Linked DNA regions of Homo sapiens: region 2 is linked to region 1. Evidence: promoter capture Hi-C in human tissues and cell types (Jung and others, 2019). All regions are on one chromosome and are shown on one strand. The core of a region is centred on a gene start or on the middle of the fragment in contact, and the rest is flanking DNA. Distances in the headings are between cores, read along the strand shown. Region 1 holds the start of DDX47 (DEAD-box helicase 47). Region 2 has its middle 76 kb from the start of GRIN2B.

Region 1 (7,668 bases), core at 3,324-5,823:
TAGGGAAGTAAAGGAGCTGAAGTCGCTTAGTTCATGAAGCAATAAGCACTGCTCACTGCCTACAGCTGAGGCCTGCACTGCTTTCAGTTTTTTAGTAAGTCCCTCACAGCAACCCTCAGTTTGTGAAACTGATATATTTTTCTACGTCATCTCCTTTCTTCATCTCTGAAGAAACCGCTAAGCCTTTTCAGTGTTTATACCTGTAGAGAATATACCAGAATGCATAAACTCCATAAGAGCAGAATAGATTTTGTCATATAGACCTGCCACATTGCTGGCACCGAACATAAGCGCTTGCTATATGGCAGCCACTAATAAATTGTTTGAAATTCCTTGAGGACAACTTTAAGTGATCTCTGAAACAGACATAAATAGATGGTGTCTCAATGTGTTACCCAGGCAGGTCTCAAACTCCTGGTCTCAAGCAATCCTCCCACCTCAGCCTCCCAAAGTCCTCGGATTACAAGCATGAACCACCATGCCCATCAAACAACTTTTGATCTCTTGATAGTAACAAACTTTGATGCAGGTCCATTAATAGAGGTTTTTTGAGCTATAAGATTCTATGTTCAAATTCAGGCTCTAGCAATAATTAGTTAGGTGACCTTAGCCAAAGGACTTAACTCCCTGAGTCTCAATTTCCTCACTAATAAAATAATTATCCGTAACTACCATTCAGCATTGTTATAAGGTTTAAGAACAGCGGACAATCTGGGCTCAGTAACTTTGCAGAAACTGAAAACGTCAGTAGTCCCAAATTCAAATTTAGAAGTTATTTTCACCGAATAACAACAGCAACAAAAACAAACAGATTATTTGAATCATTTCTATAGATTCAAATGAAGCATTTATAAACTATTCATTAGAATGAGACAAACCCAAGAATAAGGATAAAGACATTTCTATGGTGATCATTTCTGTCAGTTCCTAGTAATCTTCCACTGACCCCTCCCTATTCTTTTCTGCATCAAATTTAAACTTATGGCTGAAAACATCAGAATAATTTTAGGATTACTGCCAGCTATTTTGACTCCTTCTCACCTACACTGTAGGGCAAGCTGGAAAAGTTAAAATGCATGAACGCTTCTTGCTATTTAAAAGTAACACTGGGCCGCTGATAGTTCTTTCCCACCACTGGCCTTTATACGGTCCTTATCCTCCAAACTTCTCTGCACAAGTTTGAAGTGTTTACTAATCCCTCCTTGAAACAGTTTCCCTTCCCTAATTTGTGTGAAACTATACTCTCATGATTTTCAACCCTCTATTGAATCTTCCAATTTTCCTCTGTCATCTTTGCCAATCTAATCCATTTCCAATCTCAGCTATAACCGCTCTTTGGATACAGTGTGTATATCCAGCTCTGGCCTCTCAATCAAGTTCCAATCCCAGGATTCCAACTGGGTATTTTTTTCCTTTTTTATTGTCCCCCAGTTTTGTTAATTGACAAAAAATTATACTTATGGTATACAATGCAAAGTTTAGATACATGTATACTTTGTGAAGTGATTAAATCAAGCTCATTAACATATCTGTCACCTCACATACTTGTCATTTTTGTGGGGAGACCATTTAAGATCCACTCTCCTAGCAATTTTCAAATACACAAAACATTATTCACTGTAGTCACCATGCTATTCAATAGATCTTCAGAACTTATCCATCCTGGCTAACTGAAACCGTACCCTGAGCAACATTTCCCCATTCCCCTCCCACAAGGTCAACTCTATCTCATTGATATCCAAAATCAATTACTTCCAACTGAACTCATCTTTCCTGCATTTTTCCCCCGTTCCTTTTTTGTATCAGTGGTACACCAATAATATGCCCTAAACATACAGCCTAGAAACTTAGATTTTCCCCACCCCTTCCTTGCCTTCCACTTGCTTAACTGGTTGTAAAATCATAATGATTCTTTTTCCAACATTTTCTTTTTCATTCTACCACCACCCTACCCATTATTGATTGCAAAAATCATTACAAAGACCTACTAATTGGTTTCCCAGACTCAGTCTCTTGTTTCTAATGATCTTTCACAGCTATGAGATTAATCTTCCAAGAGTACAACTCTAAATCCTTCATCTCCAAAAATGCCCCACTGCCTATGAAACGAAGACCAAATTCCTTGACCCAGCACTCAAATCCTTCATAATCCGGCCCCAATCACCTTACTAAACTTTTTCACCACTCTGCTAAGTACTTGCAAATCTCCATACATGCCCATGTTTTCCAGTTGGCTTTTTTTCATGCTGTTCCCTATGCCTAGAAAGTCCTCCCCTCCCATCATATCTGAATGTCTAAATCCTTCTAAAGTCAGTGTTCAAGGTTCAGCTCACATGTCTTCCCAACCTCCCCAGCCAAAAATAAAATGAAATAAATCTTCTCTAATCCATCCTAATTAGAAGTAATCTCTTCTCCCTCAGTGCACTCTGAATGTAACTTTCTTAGGTCCCTGTTCAACTTGTAATAAATTTATAATTATCTCTTTAATAGATTATAGACTCTTGGAGAGGACAGACTGTTAACCTCCAGTGCCTTACATTTACAACAAATAGTAACTATTTATGGAAAGAGCAAATGGAATTTTGTAGAGTAAGTCTAACCCCTTTTCCACATGACAGCTCTTCAAATCATTAAATCTTTCAATTATTATCAATAATAATCACTACATTAATTACTAATGAGTAATAATTATAGCTTACATTAATCACTAATAATATAGTAATACAGTAATAGCTACATTAATACTAACAATAATTAGCCACATTACCCCTCTTATAACAATTGCTATGATTACATTCACTCTCTCTGAGGATCTTAATAGATTTCAGTTAACTAAGACCTCTGGGCCTCTTTTATCACCCACCCTAATCCTGTAAAGTTGGTACTTTAGGAATCTAAGAGCAGGACTTTACTTCTACTCCTATTAAAGTTCATCCTGTTACAGCCAGATGTGGTGGCTCACACCTGTAATCCCAGCACTTTGGGAGGCCAAGGCAGGTAGATCACTTGAGGTCAGGAGTTCGAGACCAGCCTGGCCAACATGCTGAAACCCCATCTCTACTAAAAATACAAAATTAGCCGGACATGGTGATGCGCCTGTAATCCATTACTTGGGAGGCTGAGGCGGGAGAGTTGCTTGAACCTGGAAGGCAGAGGTTGCAGTGAGCCAAGACCGCACCACTGCACTCCAGCCTGGGCGACAGAGCGAAACTCTATCTCAAAAAAAACTCCATCTTAAAAAAAAGATCTCAAAAAGAAAAAAGTTCATCCCATTAGTTTCAGTTCCAGTAGCCATCAATCTGCTTTAACCACTGTTTTACAAATCTGATAAACATGGCTCACAGCAAGAATTCTCAACTCCTCAAGACACACATATGTGTTCCAGGCATCCTTCCCTAAGTGTGCGCCCACTGATGCATAAAGTCTACCAAGATTGTCGTTAATATACTTTAACTTTAACCTAGGGCTTCCTTAAAGTCAGCATCTGTGGCAGAGAACAAACCCTTTCAGCTATTAAGACAGAAAGTAAGCTCAGTAAAATTGGAGAATGACATTTTCAAATACCATTACCCAAACTTTGTACCTTTAGTGACCATATCCTTATTTCACTTGAAGTATGCAAGCAACAGCTTTCAAAAGGGGTATCTAATTGAGATAACTTTATATTAAATCTGTACGAAGTCATACAACCTACCTTGTAAGGCCAAAGGAATAGCTTCAATCTGGATCTTGGTGGGTTTTGTCCATCCCAACTGGTCACAAGCTTCACACAACACATCTGTCACACCCTTGGAATTCAGAAAAATATACCTTAGCCAAGAACAGCACACCCCTACCTCCCTCCTACTTAACTGACTGTCAGACCCATCATGTACAACCATTGTATTTGATTTAAAAGGTATTTACTGTGCATCTCAGAGCCTACTCTTTAACTATACCATGAGACAGTAGCTCAAGACTTAACGAACACTTTCTGCTCACCAAGGCCAAGGCCAGGTGCTTTACATGTATCATCTCATTTAATCGTCACAACAATTCTGCGAGGTAAGTACTTATTACTATCCCCAATTTACAGATGTGGAAAGAGAAACACAGAGAGGTAACAACTTGTCCTCAGTAAGAGACTGTGTCAAAATTCAAATCTGGTTGGTTCATCTGACTCCAAAGCTCCAGTTATAAAGAGACCAATTCCATTCCCCATATGTACAACCTCCTGGATGCACATACAAACGTTGCCACACTAAAGTGGCGAATAGGGCAAATAGGGGGTCTCAGGGCCCAGCAGCCCTCCCACCACCCAAACTCAGAGCACGTCCGAAACCCAGCCCTCTGAAATTCTGGGGAAAACCCAAGCTAGGCCCCAAGATGCTTTTGTACACTATCAGAGCGGGATCTAAGGTACCTGGGGTCTCCCTGAGCCTAGCACCAGAGTACATAAAAGAAGCCAGCGTCATCCATTCTCACCAGGTCTTTAAATGTTTTAGTTTCCTCCTCTTCCACAATCGGCTGGGACGCTTCGGTCGGAGAATCGTGTTCCTCGGGTGCCGCCATCTTGTGTGAGGTCTCCGGAAGTGGGTCTGCGGCGCGCGGGATGCTGGGAAATGTAGTTTTAGTTCTCCCCGGACGACGTGCTCTGCGCGCCCCCTGCGGGCTTGCCGGGGATTGCACCCGTCCGCTAGGCAGGTGGGGCCCAGTGAATATGGGCGCGTAGGCTTGCGGAATAGATCCGAGTGCAGAAGGGGCTGATCACCAGGGACTCCAGTTGACCTTTAGGTCCCTTTTAAAGAGCCTTCCCTACGTGTGTCGCCAGTTATGTTCCCCGCTTTTCTAACCATAGAGTTTGGAACGGATTGATATTACAATACTATTTTTTTATTATGTCATTACTTTATTCAATAATGTTGAGAACCTACCATTTGCTAAGGCTATGCTAGATGGCTGGTGAATAGGACAGCGACCCCTGCCCTCGTGAAGAAAAAGAAGACAGATCATAAATAAGCTATCACAGAGCATTTCAAATTGTGAAAAGTAGCTGGGTGTGCTCACGCCTGTAACCCCAGCACTGTGGGAGGACGAGGCGGGCGGATCACTTGAGCCCAGGAGTTCGAGACCAGCCTGGGCAACGTGGCGAAACCCTGTGTCTGCAAAATGCAAAAATCAGTCAGGCATGCATGGTGGCATGCGCCTGTAATCCCAGCTATTCAGGGGGCTGAGGTTGAGGGATCAGTTGACCCCGGAAGTTGAGGCTGCAGTGAGTGGAGATGGTGCTACTGTACTCCAGCCTGGGCAACAGAGTGAAACCCTGTTCACATAAAAATTACAGAGTAACCTGGGGAGGGTGGGTTGTGGGGATAACTGTGAGATTGGGAAGGCCTCTCTGAGACAGTGATATTTGAGTTAAGACCTCACTGTTGAGCAGGAGAAAACGCTTTAAGATCCCAGGAGATAATCATTCCAGAGTGAGAGAATTCCAAGTACCAAGACTGTGAAGCTACTAAGGCTATTCTGGAAAGCAGCAAATTCAGAGCTGTATGTTGCATGCCCCATGGCCAGCGAGTGCCCTCCTGTGGCCTGTCACTTGGGTCTCACACTGCGCAGGGTGCTCGTTGCAGTTTTATTCCTGAGGATGGGAAGTTGGGGGCAATCTGGTGTCCGTCACTGGGAAAATGCATAGTTAAAATGTGAACATGGTGTCTACAAACATGCCCTTAACAATATGATTAGATCTGAAAAACCTAGTGCTTAGTGAGAAAAGCATAAAATATATCAAGTATATTAAAATATAGGCCCACAGATATCACATTCTGCTAAAACACATCCAACAGAAGATACACTTGAAATATTTTAGAATGGTTGCCTGCAGAGGGAGAAGAATTAGAATAAAACTGGGAATTGGGAATAAAAGAATTAAGTGTATAAGACAATAGGCCGGCCGCGGTGGCTCACACCTGTATCTTAGCACTTTGGGAGGCCAAGGCAGATGGATCACTTGAAGTCAAGAGTTCGAGACCAGCCTGGTCAACATAGTGAAATCCAGTCTCTACTAAAAACACAAAAATTAGCCAGGCATGGTGGCCTGTGCCTGTAATCCCAGCTACTCGGGGGGCTGGGGCAGGAGAATTGCTTGAACCCCGGAGGCGGAGGTTGCAGTGAGCTGAGATCATGCCATTGCACTCCAGCCTGAGTGACAGCGCAAGACTCCGTCTCAAAAAAAAAAAAAAAAGGATAATAAATACACAAAGCAAGAGAGGAGACTTGTGATGCCAGTGTGCTTGACCTGAGAATTGTGAGGAACTCAACTCAATGTGCCTGCCGACCTCCCCACCACCACAACTAAAAAAGGGCCCTGATTTAGGCATCACAGCAGTGTCTCAACAACAAAAAGGGTAGGATGTGGTCAGAGAATTGGGCTCAGCTCAGACTCTGCAGGACCCTGTTGTAAAAGGTCTGGGGTTTTGGATGTTATCCTAAATGCAGAAGGAAGCCACTGGGGGTTTAGAGCAGGGAAGAGACATGATCTACACATTTAAAATATTACTCTAACTCTATATGGAGATAGGCTGTAGAAAGAGTGAGAAAAGGAGACCATCTAAGACAGCGGTCCCCAACCTTTTTGGCACTAAGGACTGGTTTCGTGGAAGACATTTTTTGCACAGAATTGGGGCGGGGATGGTTTCAGGATGATTCAAGCACATTACATTTATTGTGCAGTTTATTTCTATTATTATTACATTGTAATATATAATGAAATAATTGTACAACTTGCCATAATGTGGAATCAGTGATAGCCCTGAGCTTGTTCTCCTGCAACTAGATGGTTCCATGTGGGGGTAATGGGAGACAGTGACAGATCACCAGGCATTAGATTCTCATAAGAACCACGCAACCTAGATCCCTTGCAATAGGGATTGTGCTCCCAAGCGAATCTAATGCCGCAGCTGATTTACCAGGAGGCGGAGCTCAGGTAGTAATGCTTGCTCACCTGCTACTCACCTCCTGCTGTGCAACTCAGCTCCTAACGGGCCACGGACTGGCACCAGTCCATGGCCCAGAGGCTGGGGACCCCTGATCTATGTTGGGAAAAGGGCTTGTGGGGTGCCTGCATAAACGGGCCATAAAAATATGGGACAATAAGTTGTGGCAAGTCACAAAAGGCCTCTGAGGAGGAAAGCCTTCTTATCGCCATTATGTTCCCATGCTCTGAGCGCAACCTGCTCTCTTATCTATAAACACTGTGTTCAAGGAGAAAGACACTCCTTTGAAGCATTGAAATGTGGACAGACGTTCAGGCTCCTAGTTAAGCCCACTCCCACTAGCTACTCTTCGATAAGTTAAAGATATGCTGTTTGAGAACAAAGGAGACTCATTTAAACAGCCATTGCTATAGATTACGCCTATGACATACTGCCTCCCTTTCACTGTTTCACCCTAAACATCTGCTTCTTAGATCTAAGGGATTGTACTCAATAAATAGAGTGAAGACCAGAACTCTGGGCCTTTTGCAGCCTCCATTTTGCAATTGGCCCCCCGGCCCCCACTCTTTATGCACTCTTAACCTGTCTCTTCTCATTCCTTTGTTGCCACCGGACTTTGGGTACCCTACGGGTGGTGTTGAGGCTGGTCCCCAACAATCTAAGAGACAAGGGATGATCTTCATACCCCTGGCTC
Region 2 (7,668 bases), core at 2,827-5,326, 1.2 Mb before region 1:
GTTGTTTGTGTTCATACATGTATTGAATGAACCTGAATCTGGCTACTTTGTAGCTTAAGGGCAGGAAAAGGAAGGAGAGACTGAGTTTTGTAGACTGTGGAAGACTCTCCGAGCCATCCTGCTCCATGGGCGATGGCAGAGTTGTGGTTAGAGTGGGCCCTGACAGCCTGTGTCTCAGGGTTCTGATCTGGATAAAGTGATGACAGGAGTTGTGCCGTGAAGCCGGGGCCTGGACTCAGGATGAGAGAGGGACCCTGGTTGTGTAGATCCACAGGGAGGCACTCCAGTTGTGCTGGGAAGGCTGTAGCCATCATTACCTCTGGCTCACTGAGACAGCTCTGCTCACATCAGCAGCCCTGGGTCCTGTTCTCAGGGATGGATGTGTAGGTCAGCGCAAGTATTAGGGCATGATTCTTTTTTATAGCAAATGACAGAAAGTAGAAGGGTGAATTATCACTGTGGGGGCCAAAGGAGAGCTTTCACTTTGGCCCACTGAAGGTTCACTGAAAACCAACTCATGAAAGACAGATTAATTGGAGAAAAGGTGTACACATTTATTTAATGTATATACACAGGAGTCTTCAGAATAAAGACCCAAAGACAGGGGAAATTGTCCATTTTTATGCTGAGGTTCAACAAAATATGAGGCAGCCTTCTATTATAGAAATATGGTTGGACAAAAAAGGCATGATTGAATGCTAATAGACACTGGGGACACCCAGCAAGGCCTGTCTGTCTAGATTCTTCTTGGCCTCTCTGAGCATGCATTTCTTCCTTCTGGGTGTGCAGCAGGACCCTCTCTGGAATGGGGATCTTATGACCGATCATCAAACAAGTTAGGTCAGATAATTTCTTTATGGCTGGTTTTTACATAGATAAGGTGGAGGGAAAGTTAGAGTGATTTTTTAGGTTTTATGACTGGCTTTAGGAAAAAGGGATTCTGGCTTCTATGTCCCATGTTGGGGAAGAGAAATTCTAGTTTCTATGGCTAGCCTGGGGGGAGAATGGGACTGAGAGGGATGAAGGCAGGAGAAGGTGACAGAAAAGGTTTTGCTTCTGAAGCTGCTGTTGGGACCCTCATTAGGAGGCATTGTTTTTTGAGCCCCAGAATCTCCTTTCTCCATCTACACTAGCACAGTGATTTGACTCTAGAGTCAGAAAGACTGGGTTAAAAATTCTAGCTCCATCTTTACAAGCTGCATGGCTTCTGTAAGATGGAAACAATAACATCTACCTCACAAGGCTGTGAGAATTAAATGAGATCATTCTCACTAGAGTAGTTAACACAGTACCTGGAACATAAGTCTCCAGCAAATGTTAGCCTGAAAGGGAGCAGGGGATACACTCTATAAGATATTTTAAAAGTAAAATATGTTTCTATGATCAACTTTCCTCCACTCTCATTTACCCCCGAGCCTCCCAGCAGCTACTTAAGGTGTCCCCAGATTTCCTTGTCACACAGTTAAAATGACTGTGGATTACATTGTATTTCAAATAATCCAAGAACAGTACAGCAAGCTTAGGATCTGAAATTAACTTTGCCTTTATATTGTTCACGCTAGTTTCTCTTCAAGTACAATTATCATCAGAAAGCTGCCACTAAAAATAGTACTGATTCTCATTTTTCTCTCAGTGTTATCTGCTGCCATAGTATTTCCTAGGCATGTTTATTTACTTGATTCACAGTAGTGAATCTTTTCTCTTATTAGCCTGCCAGCAACAAGCGGATCCCACAGCAATGCTCAGTTCAGGTACAGTCTTTATTCCTCGGGAAGCACAGGAGGGCTGTGTCGCCATTTCTCCTTGAGAAACTCAGTGGAAGTGTTGGTCATGGCAGGAGCTGTGTGGACAATTTTGATGTGAAAGAAAGAGAAGATCAAAGTAGAACCTTCGCTTTGATAGTTTCAGAACTTTTCTCCCTCTGGGGAGAATGACAATTTAGCCTTCAGATTTCCTCTTGTTCCCTTTTCACTGCTCATATGTGCTTTGTGTGCAAGTGTGAATTTAATGGTAGTCAGAGAAGCTGATTGACAGCTCCCTGCATGTCTCACCCCCCCTCTGATGACTCTTGCTCACAATTTGGCAGTAAACTGTCTGAGTAATATGAGAGCTCTGTTTCTATCTTTCTCATTAGGTGCTAAGATGTTGGCCAGTGATACGGTTAGGCTTTGTGTCCCCACCCAAATCTCATCTTGAATTGTAATTCCTATAATCCCCATAATCCCCATGTGTCAAGGGAGTGACCAGGTGGAAGTAATTGAATCATGGGGTTGGCTTCCGCCGTGCTGTTCTCCTGATAATAAGTGAGTTATCACAAGATCTGTTGGTTTTATAAGGGGCTCTTTCTCCTTTGCTCAGCACTTCTCCTTCCTGCTGCTTTGTGCAGAAGGTGCCTTGCTCCCCCTTTGCCTTCCGTCATGAATGTAAGTTTCCTGAGGCCTTCCCAGCCATGCAGAACTGTGAGTCAATTAAACCTCTTTCCTTTATAAATTACCTAATCTCCTTTATGTCCTTATAGCAGTGAGAACAGACTAATATAGCCAGTAAGTTAGAACAAAATGCCATAACACTGAAAGCATTTTATCCTGGGGTATTCCCTCCTACCCCCCTGCCAATGTCTCTGACTTGTCCGTCACAAACCTAAGGAGTTAGCATTAGATAATTTGGGGCCTTCTTTGGGTAAAAATAAATTGCTGTTAATTCTAGAATTATTCAATTCTTTTCCTCTCCTCTCCAACACTTCTCCTCCTTTAAAAAAAAAAAAAGAAAGCAATTCATCCAACCCTGAGAAAAAGCAACAGGCAGTCTGAGGACACAGCTCTGTAATCTGTGAGCTCCAAGTGTTGGCTGTGAGTCTAGGAGATTTGCAGCCAAGGCTGCCAGTGAAGTAGCATCTGAAGCAAGCTTAGGAGAGACAGTGTGTCGGGGGAGGGAGGGGGTGGCCTAGGAAGGTGGGAAGGAAGGAATAGAAAGTGAGCAAATTGAAACAGGAATGGAAGCAAAAAAAAAAAAAAAGAACCAACCTAACCAAGCAATTTTATATTACAACTCCTTCAGTCTTGGGAAATAACCATGTGATGTGACTGGCCCTGCAGCTAGAGGCAATGTGAGAGACTAAAATGTTCTAGCCCTGGCTCTGACAATCACTAACTGTGAGATCCCCAGCAACCCTTAGGGGTCTTCTTACCACCTGTGTTGAATGGAGGATATGTAAGCTGCCCAAGCCATCTAGGGTTGATAGATGCTGAGGTCATATAACACTTTATGAAACCACTTTGAAAACCGAAAAGTCTAGTTCCAAATGTAATGTATTATCAGTTCTCTTCCAGAGAACATGTATCCAACATGCCTCAAGCTTCTGTTTCTTCCCTTCCTCAGAAAAAACAATGCTTACTTTAAGCCATCTTAGGCTCTGTCCAGAATCTTCCATTGTCAAGTCATACACCATGTTGTTTTTCTTAGCAAAGAAGTGAAGGCATGGACCCTGCTCTGCTGCTAATTCCCAAAGATAAGGATGGTGTCAGGTATTTTGTATTGTCTTGCTACTGGGCAGGCTTTTCCACTAATAAGATGAGCAACTGGAGATCACTGTCCAGTTGGCCAACCTCCGATATTGCATGCGGGATAGTCAACCTTTTCCACCATGCATAGTGAGGGGGTATCAGTTTGCAAGGACACGGCTAGCATGCTGGGAGCTCTGTGGTTCCCAGACGCCTCCAAGTGGCTTAGATTGGAGCTATAATTAAAACCATTCCTTGCAGTTTGAGGAGAGAGTGGGAATCTTCAGCCTCTGTAATCACCGGGTCATAACCAGACTGTGTTACTGTCAAATGTTTGGGAAGTCCATCATTTTTATCTCGGAGCTTGCTAAGACCCCGGGGCTAAAGTTTCACATAGATCTTATTCAGACTGAGGATCAGGACAGGGATTTTTTAATAATCCTTTTTGGTCTGAATACTTGGGCAGGATTTGGGGAAGTCCTGTAACGTCCTGGGAGTTTCTGTTCTCTATGACATGCTGGGAAAGAGAAATACAGCACCTCAGACACCCACCTTTTTCACCAATCATGGCAGGAGAATGTTTTCTGCATCAAAATCACTTAAACGGTGATAGACTTCCCTCTAAACTCTTCATTCGCTCATGTAACGTTAATTTATTGAGTGTGTGTTATGTGAGTAGCACCACAAAAACTGCAAATATTCATTAAGAATCTAGGAGGGGCTGGGTGTTGTGGCTTAATACTAGCACTTTGGGAGGCCAAGGCAGGCAAATCATTTGAAGTCAGGAATTTGAGACCAGCCTGGCCAACATGGTGATATCCTGTCTCTACTTAAAATAAAAATACAAAAATTAGCCTGGTGTGGTCATGTGCACCTGTAGTCCCAGCTACTCGGGAGGCTGATGTGGGAGAATTGCTTGAGCATGGGAGGTGGAGGTTGCAGTGAGCCACTGCACTCCAGCCTGGGTGACAGAGTGAGACTCTGTCTCTAAATTCTCTTAATAGATTTTCATTGTTGTACCTGAGACATATGAGATATTTATGTAAAAACTATGGTACAGAACATCTCTCAGTGCCAAATGAGTGGCAGAGAAAATAGCATGCAGACTAGACTGGTCTAGGACAAGTTCACAGAGGAGAGGGGACTTAAATTGGGCTTTGAATGAATATTAATAGGATTTAGAAGGCATGGAGAAGGTAAAGAACAGGTGCATGGGATGCCTAGCAGGAGCAAAGGTTGCACAGAGGCAAAGCTTGCACAGAGTTAAGACTGAATCAAGAGCAGAATGCTGGGTCCGTGAGTGGTTAAGAATATGCATTTTGGTGTCAGTCTGCTACCTACTCTCTGTGTGACCTTGGAAAAGTCATTGATCACCTCTTGGCTTCATTTTTCTCATTTATAAAATGAAGGTGACAGTTCTTGCCTTAAGAGGCAGTCATGAGAAGTAAATGAAATAATGCATAAAGTGTTTAGCACAGTGCCTAATTGCTAATAGTAAGCAATTATTAGCAATATTGATAATACTAGTTGAAATGTGGAGTTAATCTTTTCCCTGGGGAAAGTGGGGGAGCTACTGTGAAGACTTTTGTGCAGGAATGCGACAAAATCAGATCAATCTTTTTGTAAGCTGAATGACATAATGGTATAAAGAAGTTGTGGAGAGAGAAGACGCTAGATGTGGGAAGTCCAATTGGAAAACCATTTTAACCATTCAGCTGCGAAGATAATGACCTTGATCATGACGGAGGCAAGGAAGAGATGGAAAGAAAAGACATTTATGTCAATTTTCATGATCGGATGTAGGGAGTAAGAGAGTGGAAAGTTCCCATGATCAGAGTGTAAGCTTCTGAGGATGGAAGCCTGTATTTTAATTCTCTTCATCCCCAGTGCTTAGCACATTGCCTGGTACTGTATACTGTAGCCATCAGTAAATGTTTCTGAGTGAAAGTGTAAGTAAAGGAGTGAGTGAATAAATGAAAGAAAAATGATTCACAGGTCATGAGCATAGGTTGTTGAAAGAATGGCAGTTTCCACTGACCAAATTTAACCCTTTCTTGGAATGTTTTTGGTATCTATGTAGTCTTTATCCATCATATAATGTACAAAAATGTACATATTACACAATATACACAGGGTTCTATTATCAGTATGTAATTGCTCATTTTAAAAGAAATGGTTTTAACTTTAATGAAAGTGCTAAAGGGACAGTTTTTGTCTAGAAATTTTTGTTTGATTTTTTTAACTTGAATAGAGATGTTATATATGAAATGTGGTCTCTTTGGGATTACTAAAACTAAAAATGATACATGTTTTAGTTCAATTTTAGGAAACTTCTTTTAAACTTCAGGATTGGTAGAATGGGATTAAAAACATTTCCACTTTTATATTTGTATAATTATTTCCCTTTTCTCCCTTTTTCCATTTAACAAGGAGTTGAAGTAAATCGATGGTTTATGTAAATCGTAACTTTTTCAGAAAACTCAACATTTTGGTTTCTGAAAATGGAGGAAAAAGTTCTAATATGATCAGAATCAGGGACTTTGCTCTTATCCAAAGGTGAATATTTGCTGTCAATCTGTGGGTTGCAGCTTGAAACTGTTTACTAAAAGACCCCAACTTCTTTAATATTTAAATTTACTCAAATGCCTTGTTTATATTTTTTAAAGAGCCAAAAAGAGACCCAAGCACATTAACATCTGGCAATGAGGCACTTAATTTTATTCTAACTCATCCTTTGCAAATATTACCATGACATTGTAAAGTTCTCTAATTCTCATTTGCTGGACATTTACTAAGATAATTTTTCTTTTTTAGTAACAAAACCAAATCAATTCCCAGACTTCTCCTGAATGAAATAGGTGGAATTTAGCTGTGGACTGTGTGAGCTCTTATTGAAAACAAGATGCCCTCAGGAGCTATTTCACAGCATTCACCTTTCCATGTGCAAATAGAATAGAAAATGACTTTGTTACCTGCAGTCTTTTTGCTGGGTCCTGAATTGTGGTAATTATGTAAGATTCCTGCTTTTAAAAGTAAGCTTTCTTATACAAAATTAGAATATTACAGTTATATGTAGAGGAGTATAGATTTTTGATGTCACAGAAAACAAGGTTGTATAATGGCCACACCTCCCTTGGTAGGCAGTGGGGAAAAGACCTTGTACACAGTGCCACAGACCACCGTGTGCCCTGTTTCCTGAGAAATCAACTATAGGTATCATCATTTACACGCAACGTCACCAACAGGTGGATGTGAAGAGCACAGAGTTCTGATAGTCATCTTTCTGTTATTACTTGTCTCCGTCCCAGTGGCCATAGCTACTTAGTCTAAGAATAGACAACTAGTACAAGTTGGGCAATCGATGTTTCCCCGTGGTAAATACAGAATATTGAATGGAGACCCAGAAACTGAAATCTTTGAGAAGTGAGTCTGCTTTATGGTAGTGTTTTGGGAGGAAATCTATCACCACTGTGAGGTCCTAGAGCTATGCTGGTCCTGCTCTTCCTAAAGAGTAGGTGTGTTTGACTCCTCATTAGATTCTGTCACATATTCTAATATTCCTCCAATAAACCCTGCTTCCATGTGTCTATATGATAAGAGTGTGGAGCAGTAGGGACGGGAAGAGCTTTTATCAGTTAAATCATTACTGACAGAGATTTACTTTTATTTGATGTTAGCAGTGATTTGGGCAGCAGATGAAACAATGAAGAACCATGAGATGCCAACTTTTTTGATCTCCTCATAAAATGAGATTATCTTCCTGGACAGCTGCTCCCTTCTGACTCCTGAACAGGAGAAGAGCAGAGGCCACTGTCCCCTGAGGAGTCCTTAGGGGTTAGCCATGGGCTTCCATTCGGCCAAAGATAGGTTGGAAGAATATCAGAATATGTGACACAGTCTAATGAGGAGTCGAACACCCGCTCTTAAGGAAGGGCAGGGACCAGCATAGCTCTGGAACCTCAGGGTAGTGATAGATTTCCTTCCAGAACACTACCATTCAACAGACTCAGTTCTCAAAGGTTTTAGTTTCTGGGCCTCCAGTCAATATTTCATATTTACCTTAGAGAGATGTTGATTGCCCAACTTGTACTAGGTATCTATTTTTGGACTAAGTAGCTATGGCCACTGGGACAGAGACGAGTAAAGATGGCTCCCAGAAATCACCTCT

Evidence for each region. The method cuts DNA at HindIII sites, captures the fragments that hold promoters and counts their contacts. A contact is called where the count stands out against the background at its distance.
Region 2: a contact is called between a fragment that was not itself captured here and the fragment with the promoter of DDX47 in region 1, in 1 of the 25 tissues and cell types used here (dorsolateral prefrontal cortex).

The regions. Positions count from the first base shown.
Region 1 is chr12:12,810,251-12,817,918 of GRCh38, reverse strand. DDX47 (DEAD-box helicase 47) reads right to left here and starts at 4,573. Exons shown (of 12, transcript NM_016355.4): 1 at 4,465-4,573; 2 at 3,695-3,788. The coding sequence starts at 4,551. RefSeq lists an enhancer at 4,437-4,746. The HindIII fragment of the contact is 22,330 bases long and covers 1,806-7,668 here.
Region 2 is chr12:14,054,135-14,061,802 of GRCh38, reverse strand. No RefSeq gene overlaps it. Among named protein-coding and RNA genes, the nearest start is that of GRIN2B, 76 kb to the right of the region's middle. The HindIII fragment of the contact is 3,729 bases long and covers 2,212-5,940 here.